2 separate regions of the Homo sapiens genome follow, and region 1 is linked to region 2. The links are contacts of gene promoters, found by promoter capture Hi-C in blood cells and fetal thymus (Javierre and others, 2016). All regions are on one chromosome and are shown on one strand. Each heading gives the region's core, a stretch centred on a gene start or on the middle of the fragment in contact. The rest is flanking DNA. Distances are from core to core; before and after follow the strand shown.

Region 1 (5,237 bases), core at 256-2,755, about 11 Mb before region 2:
GGTGTGGTGGTTCATGCCTGTAATCCCAGCACTTTGGGAGGCCAAGGCAGGTGGATCACCTGAGGTCAGGAATTTGAGACCAGCCTGGCCAACATGGCAAAACCCTGTCTGTACTAAAAATACAAAAATTAGCCGGGCAAGGTGGCGTGTGCCTGTAATCCTAGCTACTTGGGAGGCTGAGGCAGGAGAATTGCTTGAACCTGGAGGGAGGAGGGGCAGAAGTTGCAGCGAGCTCAGATCGTCCCACTGCACTCCAGCCTGGGTGACAGAGTGAGACTCCATCTCAAAATAAGTAAATAAATAAAGAGACTCAACTAGCATAAATGAATTGCAAGTGTTTTATAGTATATAATGAGCACAACAAAAGTATCAATATATTACATGGAAATACATTTTTCAAAGCTGGATCTTTAGCTTCCAAGGATTAAGGAGAATTTTGTTACTGAGTTGGTTCTTAATTTAGGCTCTGCACCTGAGACCTAGAGTCCCCTGGGATTTGGGTCCGAGGACTGGCATTACCTTTGTAGGTGGCTCTTGGCAACTAGCACTGTCTAAGATCTTAACATTTGCAAATGAAGCCTTAAAACATGTCCCAAAAGTATGGAAAGTGGGCCGATTTCAACACAACCATTACCTGTTCCTGGTAGCTGACCAACTAGGAGATTTCAGAGGTCAAGTGGGACAGAGCAGGGTAGGGAATTTTTTTTTAAGCTTTATTATAAAACAGGTAACTTTGTCCCTATCTTAAGAATTTGGAACTGAGGCTATAGGTCACTCAATGATCAAATAATGAAAGGTCTGCTTCAACTGGACTACTTAATATTTCACATTTACCTTTTTGACTAGAAATAACTGATGAAAGTTCACTTAGTTTGGTGGGAAATAAGAGATACAAAGATATCTTCTCCAGGATGAGACTCCCAAAAGCAAATGTTCTCTGAGTACCTCTGTCGCTCAAATTTAAGCCCTTTGGAGTTCCTTTGAGCATGGTTCTGCCCTCATATTTCTGATCACTCCCTCTAGACTCCTACTCAACTTCTCTTCCTCTGTGTGCACTCCAATTGCAAGTCACACCCAGGTTCTGTTCTTAGCACTCTATATACCCTCTACCTGGAGAGTCTTATTCTTCTATATTCCAACCACCATCCATATGCTGATATGGACTGAATATTTGTATCTCCCCCAAATTTTTATGCTGAAGCCCTAATCCTCAATGTGATGGTATTTGGAGATGGCGCTTTTAGGATATAACTGGGTTTAGATGAGGTCATGACAGTAGAGCCCCCATGGTGGGATTAGTGCCCTTATAAGAGGACAAGACCAGAGCCTTCTCTCCTCTGATATAATTACCCACATAAATCTTGACATATTGAAGAGTTGGTTGATCTCTTAACGAAGGGGTCTCCAACTCCTGGGCTGCAGACCGGTACAGGTCCATGGCCTGTCAGGAATGGGGCTGCACAGCAGGAAGTGAGCGAAGGGCGAGCAAGCATTACCGCCTGAGCTCCGCTTCCTGTCACAGCAGCAGCAGCATTAGATTCTTATAGGAGTGTGAACCTTATTGTGAACTGCAGATGCAAGGGATCTAGGTTGCGTGCTCCTTATGAGAAAATGCCTGATGATCTGAGGTGGAACGGTTTCATCCTGACACCATCCCTCCCAGGCCCCTGGTCCGTGGAAAAATTGTCTTCCACGAAACCTGTCCCTGGTGCCAAATAGGTTGGGGACCGCTGGTTTAAAGGACTGATGACTCTTAATGCAATGAGTGACACAGATGAAGTATATAATCTGGATTCCAGCAGAAATGGTAGTCTAGATTTTGAGAATGAAGAATAGAACCTATCTGATACTTCTAAAATTATTTTCTTGTTAATAATTACGGTCATTCAAAAGCCAATTTCTATTAGACGTCTTCCTTTTTTATTGCTTGTTGTACATAAGTGAATATTTATCTTTTCTATAAGCAGTTGTAACATTGGAAGTCATTTTTCTGTCTCCATTGTACCAGTTCTTCTTGAACCATTTGTTAATCTACAAGTTCTATGGCTATATAGAAATCTATTCACATTCACAGGATTTTGCAACATGTTTTGCTCCATTTTTACAGTTACATTTGCTTTCTCTGTATTTATTCTACAGGAATTAATTTATTTTATAGTTTGGCTTGCTTCTCAGTTATGTAGTCTTGAAATGCCATATTCACATTTGCTTTTACGGTTCCCACATTAAGGTTCAGGGCTTTATTTACCCATGCATTTGTATATTTGAGCATTTTTGTTGCTTGCTTTATACAAGCTTTAACTGAGACTAATACATGTCTTTCTTTTCTTTTTGTAGAGACAGGGTCTTGTTATGTTGCCCAGGCTAGTCTCAAACACCTGGCCTCAACTGATCCTCCCACCTCAGCTTCTGAAGGTGCTGGGATTACAGGCATGAGCCACCACAAGAACAACACATTTCTATAAGGTTATGGGGTTTTACTTTTTTCCAGTGTTAATTAGTTTCACATATCTAGAATTTGTAATTTCTTATTGGATACTAGAATTACTGTATTTATTTACCTGAACAAATTAATGTTTCCCTCTACAAACTACTTTAGAAAGATTTTCAATAAAGGTAAATGGGATGTAATAATCTATTAAGAAAAAATGACTCAGAGTGGAACCTGTAGCAAAATATAAATTTGCTGTATTTAAGAGTAATTGAAAGCAAAAGATTCCAAAAGCTTGAAAAAAATGGAGATGCCCTAAATAAACTTACCATTGAAAAATAACAGAAAATGTTGAATACAAAAAAAAAAATGTATTGCTGTGCTGCCAAGAAAGAAAATGCTTTAGAGGTAAACATAAATGAAGTGAATGAATGAATCCAGAGAGGCAAGAGAACCCTGACGTAAGCACCTACCCTGAAAGGGTCTGCTGATTTTTAATGAACTTGAGCTTCCTTTTAATAAAAGCTGCATTGGGGCTTACGAGAAAGGAGACAAAAGAGACTGCCCAACATGCAGAGGCTGAGAGGAGACCTACACATAAACCAGAAAGCCTTATATCTTCAGTGAAAAGTGAACAACAATAGCAACAATGAGAAGCCAAACCAACCAGAAGAGGGGTATAATAAGGAAACTTGTCTATCAAAAACTAGATGCTAGGTAGAATAAAAAGACTTACTTCCTCTGATATCCAAAAAAACCTCAAGCCAATTATTTAAAGCGGTTATTAGTCAACAGAGATAAATCACTTAGAAGGATTAAAATTATATTCTCTTTGGTGGAATATTCTTCTATCCAGACCTCAAATAATTCCTATAAAATTCCACTGAACATAAGCTCGAGTTCAAAAAATCATAAAACGGGTGAGGATCTTAAGTACCTCTGATGAGTGGCAGGGTATAAGTGGCTCATGTGGGTGATCCCAACACTTTGGGAGGTTGAAGTGTGGGATCACTTGAAGCCAGGAGTTCAAAACCAACCTGGCCAACATAGTGAGACCCTGTCTCTGTCTCTAAAAAACAAATAAAGTCCAATGAGTTGAGTGCCAGCAGAAAAAGAAAACTGACAGAATTATATATAAATGTTTTAGATACTAGAATTATCTGCTACTGAATAGAAATATACCTTTTCCTCGTTATTATGTTTAATTCACTCCTGAAAACCCTACTGCTAAGTGAAAAGCCACTAAATGAAAATAATATTTTAACTGGAAAATCATGATGCATTCTCTGTAAACCCAAGAAAACTAAACAATTTCAGACCAAAAAAATCAATTTTTCCAGAGACAAGGTTATATCAACAAGTTGAAATAATAAAGACAGTTTATTTACAAACTGTAATGTACTGAAGGCTTGTTGTAAACTTTCTTCTTTCTGTACCAATTTTTCAGTCTTTAGGGGGGCCTATAGTTATTTTACACTCTAAATTTATAGCACTTAAAGTTACAGCACAGAAAAACAGTGTGAGTTTAATGTTCCTATGACTTACAACACCTTACAAGAACTGGCTCCTTTGCAGTCCCTTTAAATTAATCACTTCCTACTCTTTCTCCCTGGTGTCTGAGCTCTGATTCATTGGCTTCTGTTCAGTTTTTCACACTCCAGACTCTCCCATGGCTCAGAACTGTCAAATATGTGGGTCCTACCACCTGGAATGCACCCTCTGCTACTCTTCACCTGACTGGTTTCTTTCCAACATTCTAACTTCAGATTAAGTCTAATGGACCCAGAGAAGCCCCCTCTCACTACCTTGTGGAAATTGGTCCCTCTTCTGCACCTCCATCTCCCACCACTTTCCTCTGGCCATATTGAAGGATCTTGAAAGACATACAGATAGGTACAGTTCTATATAGACAAATGAAAGAGCAAAAGGCAGAATATACTTAGTGTTTTAACTGAATGATTCTGAAGTTCTGCTCAAATTGGGAAGTCAAACCTGATTGAGGTTATTACCTTAGGAAAAGGACAGTACTAATTGGCCAATATTCAGGGGAGTTCAGATAGTAACTGCAACCTGAAGACCAGCTAGGCCTGTGATATGGTTTGGCTGTGTCCCTACCCAAATCTCATCTTGAATTGTAGTTTCCATAATCCCCATGTGCCATGGGAGGGACCTGATGGGAGTTAACTGAATCATGAGGGTGGTTACTCCCATGCTGCTGTTTTCGTGAGAGTGAGTTCTCACGAGAGCCGCTGGTTTTACAAGGGTGCCTTTTGCTCAGCACTTCTCCTTGCTGCCACCATGTGAAGAAGGATGTGTTTGCTTCCCCTTCTTCCATGATTGTAAAGTTTCCTGAGGCCTCCCCAGCCATGCTGAATGGTAAACCTCTTTCCTTTATAAATTACCCAGTCTCAGATACATCTTTATTAGCAGCATGAGAATGAACTAATACAGGCTATGAATATTATTTGCCACTCTAACATGCTTTAAATGTGTCCACTCATTCAAGCTGAGGGTGGATCACTTTGTTTCACCCTAGTCTGAGGATTCTCAAGAATGTAGTATGTGGTCATTATCCCACCTCCTTCTACCTGAGGTAGGATAACCTTAAAATGGTACAAACTGGTCTTGGACTGTAGACCATACTGAGATGCTGATGCACTTGCCCGCTTGTGGGAACCCACTTCCCCATGACCTCAAAGATAACCTTGTTATGTGTGCTTGCTGATAGATGAGAAGGCTTGTCTCTCACACCAAAGGCTGGCATTTGTGACAATTTCTGCGCCTATAGGGCCTAACCCAACATCTG
Region 2 (5,453 bases), core at 1,795-4,294:
GGAGATTCTCTTGAGCCCAGGAGTTGGAGGCCAGCCAGGGCAACAGAGTTAGGTCTGTCTCTTAAATAGAAAATTTACTAAAGTTACCCTCTCTATAGAACGCTTTTATCCACAAAGGTGTTCTGGCTCATGCATCGATGAGATTAGCGAGGAATTTAAAATGTTATTACTCATAAAACTAACACAGTAACTCTCAGACTTGTAAGCAACAATTAACATAGACTGAGATAAGCTTTCATTGTGTTGTCCTATTCATAAGGTGACAAAATCACGATTTACCGAAATGAAAGTGTGTCATAACTCAGACACAATTTTTGTATGTCCTTCACTGTAAGAATACAATTCTGTACTAACTTATGTAACATTTTACCAATGATCAATTCTTGTCATTTACAAATATGACATAAATAGCATCCAAAACACAAGTTACCTAACTAACAAACTGAAGTAGTGTTTAGGGGTGGCACTTGGAGGCAGACAGGGATATAATATAATCTTCAAAGACATTTTATCACTAAAGAGGGTGGGGTGGGGGTAAGAAGAAGAGAGGGGGCTGGAATGAGCCAGAACTTCTGCATTTTCAGCTATGAACAAGATACTCATCCCAGGGATATTTACTGTAGAGCATAAAGAAATCGCTAAGAAGCAAAATCCTGCATATAAGTAGACATATCAGGGATAAGGGGAGGTGAAATTTTCTTATGTACCTAAAGAAATATATACATCACCCTGAGAATTTACAGATTATTTATTGCTTGGAAGAGAGTATTTTCTTCTACCAATATCCTACCATTCTCCCTCCACTATTAGTTGACCTTTTACTATGCACTAAGCATAGTAATAAGCCCTTTACATACATTATCCATTATCTTTTTTTACTCCTATAAAAGCCTCTGAGGGAAGTCCTATTATCATCACCATTTTACAGATGAGGGAATATTCTACCAATAATATAGATCAGACGCCTAAATTTAAAAATTATATCTACGACATGGTAGAGTTAGTTTTAAGTTATCTCTAAGCACTCAAATAGAAAAGGACACAAAAAAATTAGCCTCTACCCCAAGTCCAAAGTGGATATATTCCATTTTTACAACTTTCAAAACTTTAACCTTAGCATGCAACAATATTCATATACTAGTCAAGCTAAAGAAAAACTACTAGTTAATAATGCTTTATCTTATTTAGTTACTGTAGTTTATAATTTAAAAAGCAGGTTGAAGGTTTAGAGCATCCCCTTTGGGTTCAGACAGTATGGAATTGAACCTACACAATACCACCAATAACTGCTATGTGACCTTGGTCAGACTACTCTCTCAGATTTCATTTCCTCATCTGTAAAATGGGGATGATCTTAATAGCACTTTTCTCAAAGGTCTGTTGTGGAGATTAAAAAAAAAATGTATGAAAAGGACTTATTACTGTGCTCAGTGTATAGCAAAAGGTCACCTAATGGAGAACAGCCACACATAAGCTAAGCAGAGCAAACACAATCACTTAAAAAGGCTATATTCTGAAAATCCACTTACAGAAAAGGAGAGAATTACTATTTGACTACATGCTAAAGACAAAATTCAAGTTCAATTTATTCCTAATTTTTTAGGGGATCAATGCATTTGGGGTGAGCCAGAAAAGATGCTGCAGTGCATCTGTGACACACACCTAAAAATGGCTCCAGTCAAAGCAGCATCTTAATTACCAATATGGGAGGTGAAATCTAGTTTTGAAAAATGGTGGGGTTAGGCTTGGTAGGTGCTTAGTATCACCCTATTATTTTTATTTGCAGGAGTAAGCTATTAAGTACTCAACAATCAAAAAATCCTCCGATTCTTCTGGTGCATTCCAAATGAAAATCTTACAGCAGAGCCGCCTACTGTACAATTCTAAGTACTCTAACGAGGTATGAATCTATGAACCCAGGCTGAAAACCAGCCAATGCGGAAATCCAGGTAGCTTTATAAGCCAGCAAACATCAGGCATGTCAGACCCTCAAAAGATCCCAAATAATGTCAAAACACACATACATCCCTTTAAATTAAAGGTACTCCTCTCATGCAAAGGAAGGAAGACTCTATCAATGTCTCTATAGTGGCCCCATGCCCTTTTCTTCAGTCCTAAAACGGGGCCTTTACCCTGACACCACCAATATCAACGCTATCTCAAAGACAGGGAGCTACCGAGATTCACCACGCAAGTTAGAGGATGGAGCGGCCTAGAGTGTGAAAAGACTACCCAAATCCTCCTCCGGAGTTGGGCAGCACTTCCCTAGCGGAAGTAGGGTTGGTCTTGATTCCCCGAAGAGCCTCTCATCTAACCAGGTCTTTAAACCAGACCCTCCCATACATTGCTCATTGCAAGTCCCACCCTCACTACACAGGAAGAGGTAGACAGTGAAAGCCCCGGCTGAGTCCTTCAGTTGTTTGGGGAAACGCATACCCGACACTAAAAAAAAAAAAAAAAAAAAAAGACTTCACGTCCGCCAGTCCAGGAAGACGGAAACCCCCTTCGCTTACCCGGCAACATGCGTAATCCCCTCGCAGGGCCAGGACTGGGGTCTAGGTGGGAGCAAGACAGACCGGTCCAGAACTCCCGCTGCAGACCACATGGGGCGGGTCTGACTCCGGTTTCCCGCTCCCCAAGCTGGAGGCCGACTTCCCCAGACACAGAGATGATGGTAACCAAACAGAAGGGAAATGCCCGGACCCAAGGCCCTCTCCACGCGGCCCCCTAGCCTCCGGGCGCCAGGGTCTGGGTGCGCTCCCACGCCCCAGGCCGCACTCTGGCCGTTCCCGATGGGGCCCTCTTTGATCGCGGCCCCCACACCCTCGCTTTCCTTACCGGTCAGGGTGAGTGTCAAGTTTGCGCACTTCGAGGGTCTCCGCCGATCTCTGATCGAAAGAAGGGGGAGGGAAAGCTGGGGTTAAAGGGGTGGCCGGAAGGGCCACCAGACTGGAAAAGCCGAAGCTGCGGATGGACAAACCGCCAAAGCACTTTCGCAGCTTTCCGAGGGGGAGCGAGCGAGCGAGAAAAAGAAGCAAGATGGCGGCTAGCCAGCCCCTACGTACTACGTCATGACGCTAAGTACGTAGGTCAAATCTCCGCAAGACCACACTCCTGCGCAGAGACGGCCGGATCACGTGAAGCCTCCGTGGCGGCCCAACCCCGACAGAGGGTGCTGGCGCTTCCTGCTGGACGGAGGGAGTTTCTGCAATCAGAATTATCTTTTCAGGACAAAGCTTGGACCTGAGACCTTTCTAAGAAGTCTTGAATTGACCACGTTTACAAGTTGATAATAAGCCTCAGTGAAATGAGCACTCTTATGTCTGGTGGGTGGATGTGTAAATGGTTGAACCAGCAGTTCGCCAGTATGTCTCAGTGAATTTGGGGCAAGCTGAGAAGTCTTGGTGTATTGAAAAGTTATCACAGAGAGTGAAAGTAAAACTAGTGTGAGGAACAGAGTAGCATGGGCTGCTGAGAGCACTTTTTAAGTTTCTAATTATGGATGTGAGATAAGCCATTCAGTTTATTTATATGATCTCTCCATCACAGTGTTCAGCTCCGTTGAATAGTAAGATTCACCCATGCTGGCTTTTACTAGGCAAGTGTAACATAGGCAGATGAGTGTATCTGGAAGTGGGAGACTACAATGATGATAATATTATGTCAGAACAGATGGCGAATGTTTAGTAAATGGTATCTTTTGTCCTCTTTGTGAACTACCTATGACATATTTAAAATTCAAGGATTTCTTACCACTTCTGGTCTGAACGATCTTCCCCGCCAGTAGCTGGTGTATGTCCATGGAATTGTCACTGTAGCAATGTTAGAATAAATGAAATAATAAAGAGAGGTAAATTATGAACACCTCCCTCCCCACTAATATTAATTTGAAGTAGAAAAGTCTGGACTTGCTTGGTGGCTCATGCCTGTAATACTAATACTTTGGTAGGTCAAGGCAAAAGGATTGCTTGAGACCAGGAGTTCAAGACCAATCTGGGCAACATAGTGAGACCCTACCTCTGCAAAAAAATTAAAAAGAAAAAAAGCTAGCTAGGCATAGTGGCACATGCTTATAGTCCTAGCTACCTGGGAGGCTGGAGGCAAAAGGATCACTTGAGCACAGGAGGTTGAGGCTGCAGCGAGACTCTTTCTCGAAAAAATAGAAAAGAAGAAAAGAAAAAGTTTTTTTATTGATATAGGGTCATTGCCAGGGGAAAGCCTACTGATCATCCACAAGAGGACAAGGAAGCATTACTTTAGTGAATTTCTACAACCTTCTAGGATCTGGTCTATAGTGTCCTGGTCACAGAAACATCTTTCTTTGTTTTTTTGGAGGCAGGGTCTCACTTTGCTGCCCAGGCTGGAGTGTAGTGGCATAATCACAGGTCACTGAAGCCTCAACCTCCCAGGCTCAAGCAATCCACCTGTCTCAGCCTCCCAGGTAGGTGGGACTACAGGTGCTTGCCACAAAACCTGGCTTTTTTTTTTTTTTTTTTTTTTTTTTGCCAGTAGAGACGAGGTCTTGCTATGTTGACTGGGCTGGTTTCGAACTCCTGAGCTCAAGCAAGCCTCCCGCATTGGCCTCCCAAAGTGCCGGAATTACCGGCATGAGCCACCACGCCCAGCCAAATCATCTGTCTTGAGCAATGGAGAACAACTTCAGCAATCAGATGAAATTACATTAACCAAGGTCATAAGACTGACACGTATGGCCGGGCGCGGTGGCTCACGCCTGTAATCCCAGCACTTTGGGAGGCCGAGGCGGGCGGATCACAAGGTCAGGAGATCGAGACCATCCTGGCTAACACGGTGAAACCCAGTCTCTACTAAAAAATACAAAAAAAAATTAGCCGGGCGTGGTGGCGGGCGCCTGTAGTCCCAGCTACTCAGGAGGCTGAAGCAGGAGAATGGCGTGAACCCAGGAGGCGGAGCTTGCAGTGAGCACAGATCCTGCCACTGCACTCCAGCCTGGGCAACAGAGCGAGAGAGCGAGACTCTGTCTCAAAAAAAAAAAAAAAAAAAAAAAGACATGTATTAAATTATTAATTTCTAAGAGCTTTAATTTATACACCTGAACACTCAACAACTGCAAAGCCAATACTTTTTTTTTCTTTTTTTCTTTTAATTTTTGCCAGAAACAGAAAGCCTCCGGTATGCCAGCATGGACCCAAGGTGCTATCTTTTCTTGAGTACATTTTCTCATTTCCCTCCCCTCCCCTCCCCTCCCTCCCTCCTTCTCCCCTCCCCTCCCTCCCTCCCTCCCTTCCCCTCCCCTCCCTCCCTCCCTTCCTTCCTTCCTTGCCTGCCTGCCTTTTCTTCCTTCCTTCCTTCCTTCTTTCTTTTTTTTTTTCCCCATGGAGTCTCACTCTGTTGTCCAGGTGGCGTAATCTCAGCTTACTGCAACCTTCACCTCCCAGGTTCGAGCGGTTCTCCTGCCTCAGCCTCCCGAGTAG

The links. Contacts are between HindIII fragments. The CHiCAGO score rates a contact against its expected background, and 5 or more counts as called.
Region 1: a fragment that was not itself captured here is called in contact with the fragment with the promoter of PRRC2C in region 2 in 1 of 17 cell types (total B cells); the score reaches 7.2 in total B cells.

Annotation. Positions count from the first base shown.
Region 1 is chr1:182,832,272-182,837,508 of GRCh38, reverse strand. DHX9-AS1 (DHX9 antisense RNA 1) reads left to right here. Exons shown (of 2, transcript NR_148933.1): 2 at 1-3,837. Among named protein-coding and RNA genes, the nearest start is that of DHX9, 4.5 kb to the left of the region's middle. The HindIII fragment of the contact is 1,584 bases long and covers 714-2,297 here.
Region 2 is chr1:171,483,121-171,488,573 of GRCh38, reverse strand. PRRC2C (proline rich coiled-coil 2C) reads right to left here and starts at 3,044. Exons shown (of 35, transcript NM_001387844.1): 1 at 2,839-3,044. RefSeq lists enhancers at 2,491-3,239, 3,146-3,455. The HindIII fragment of the contact is 3,004 bases long and covers 235-3,238 here.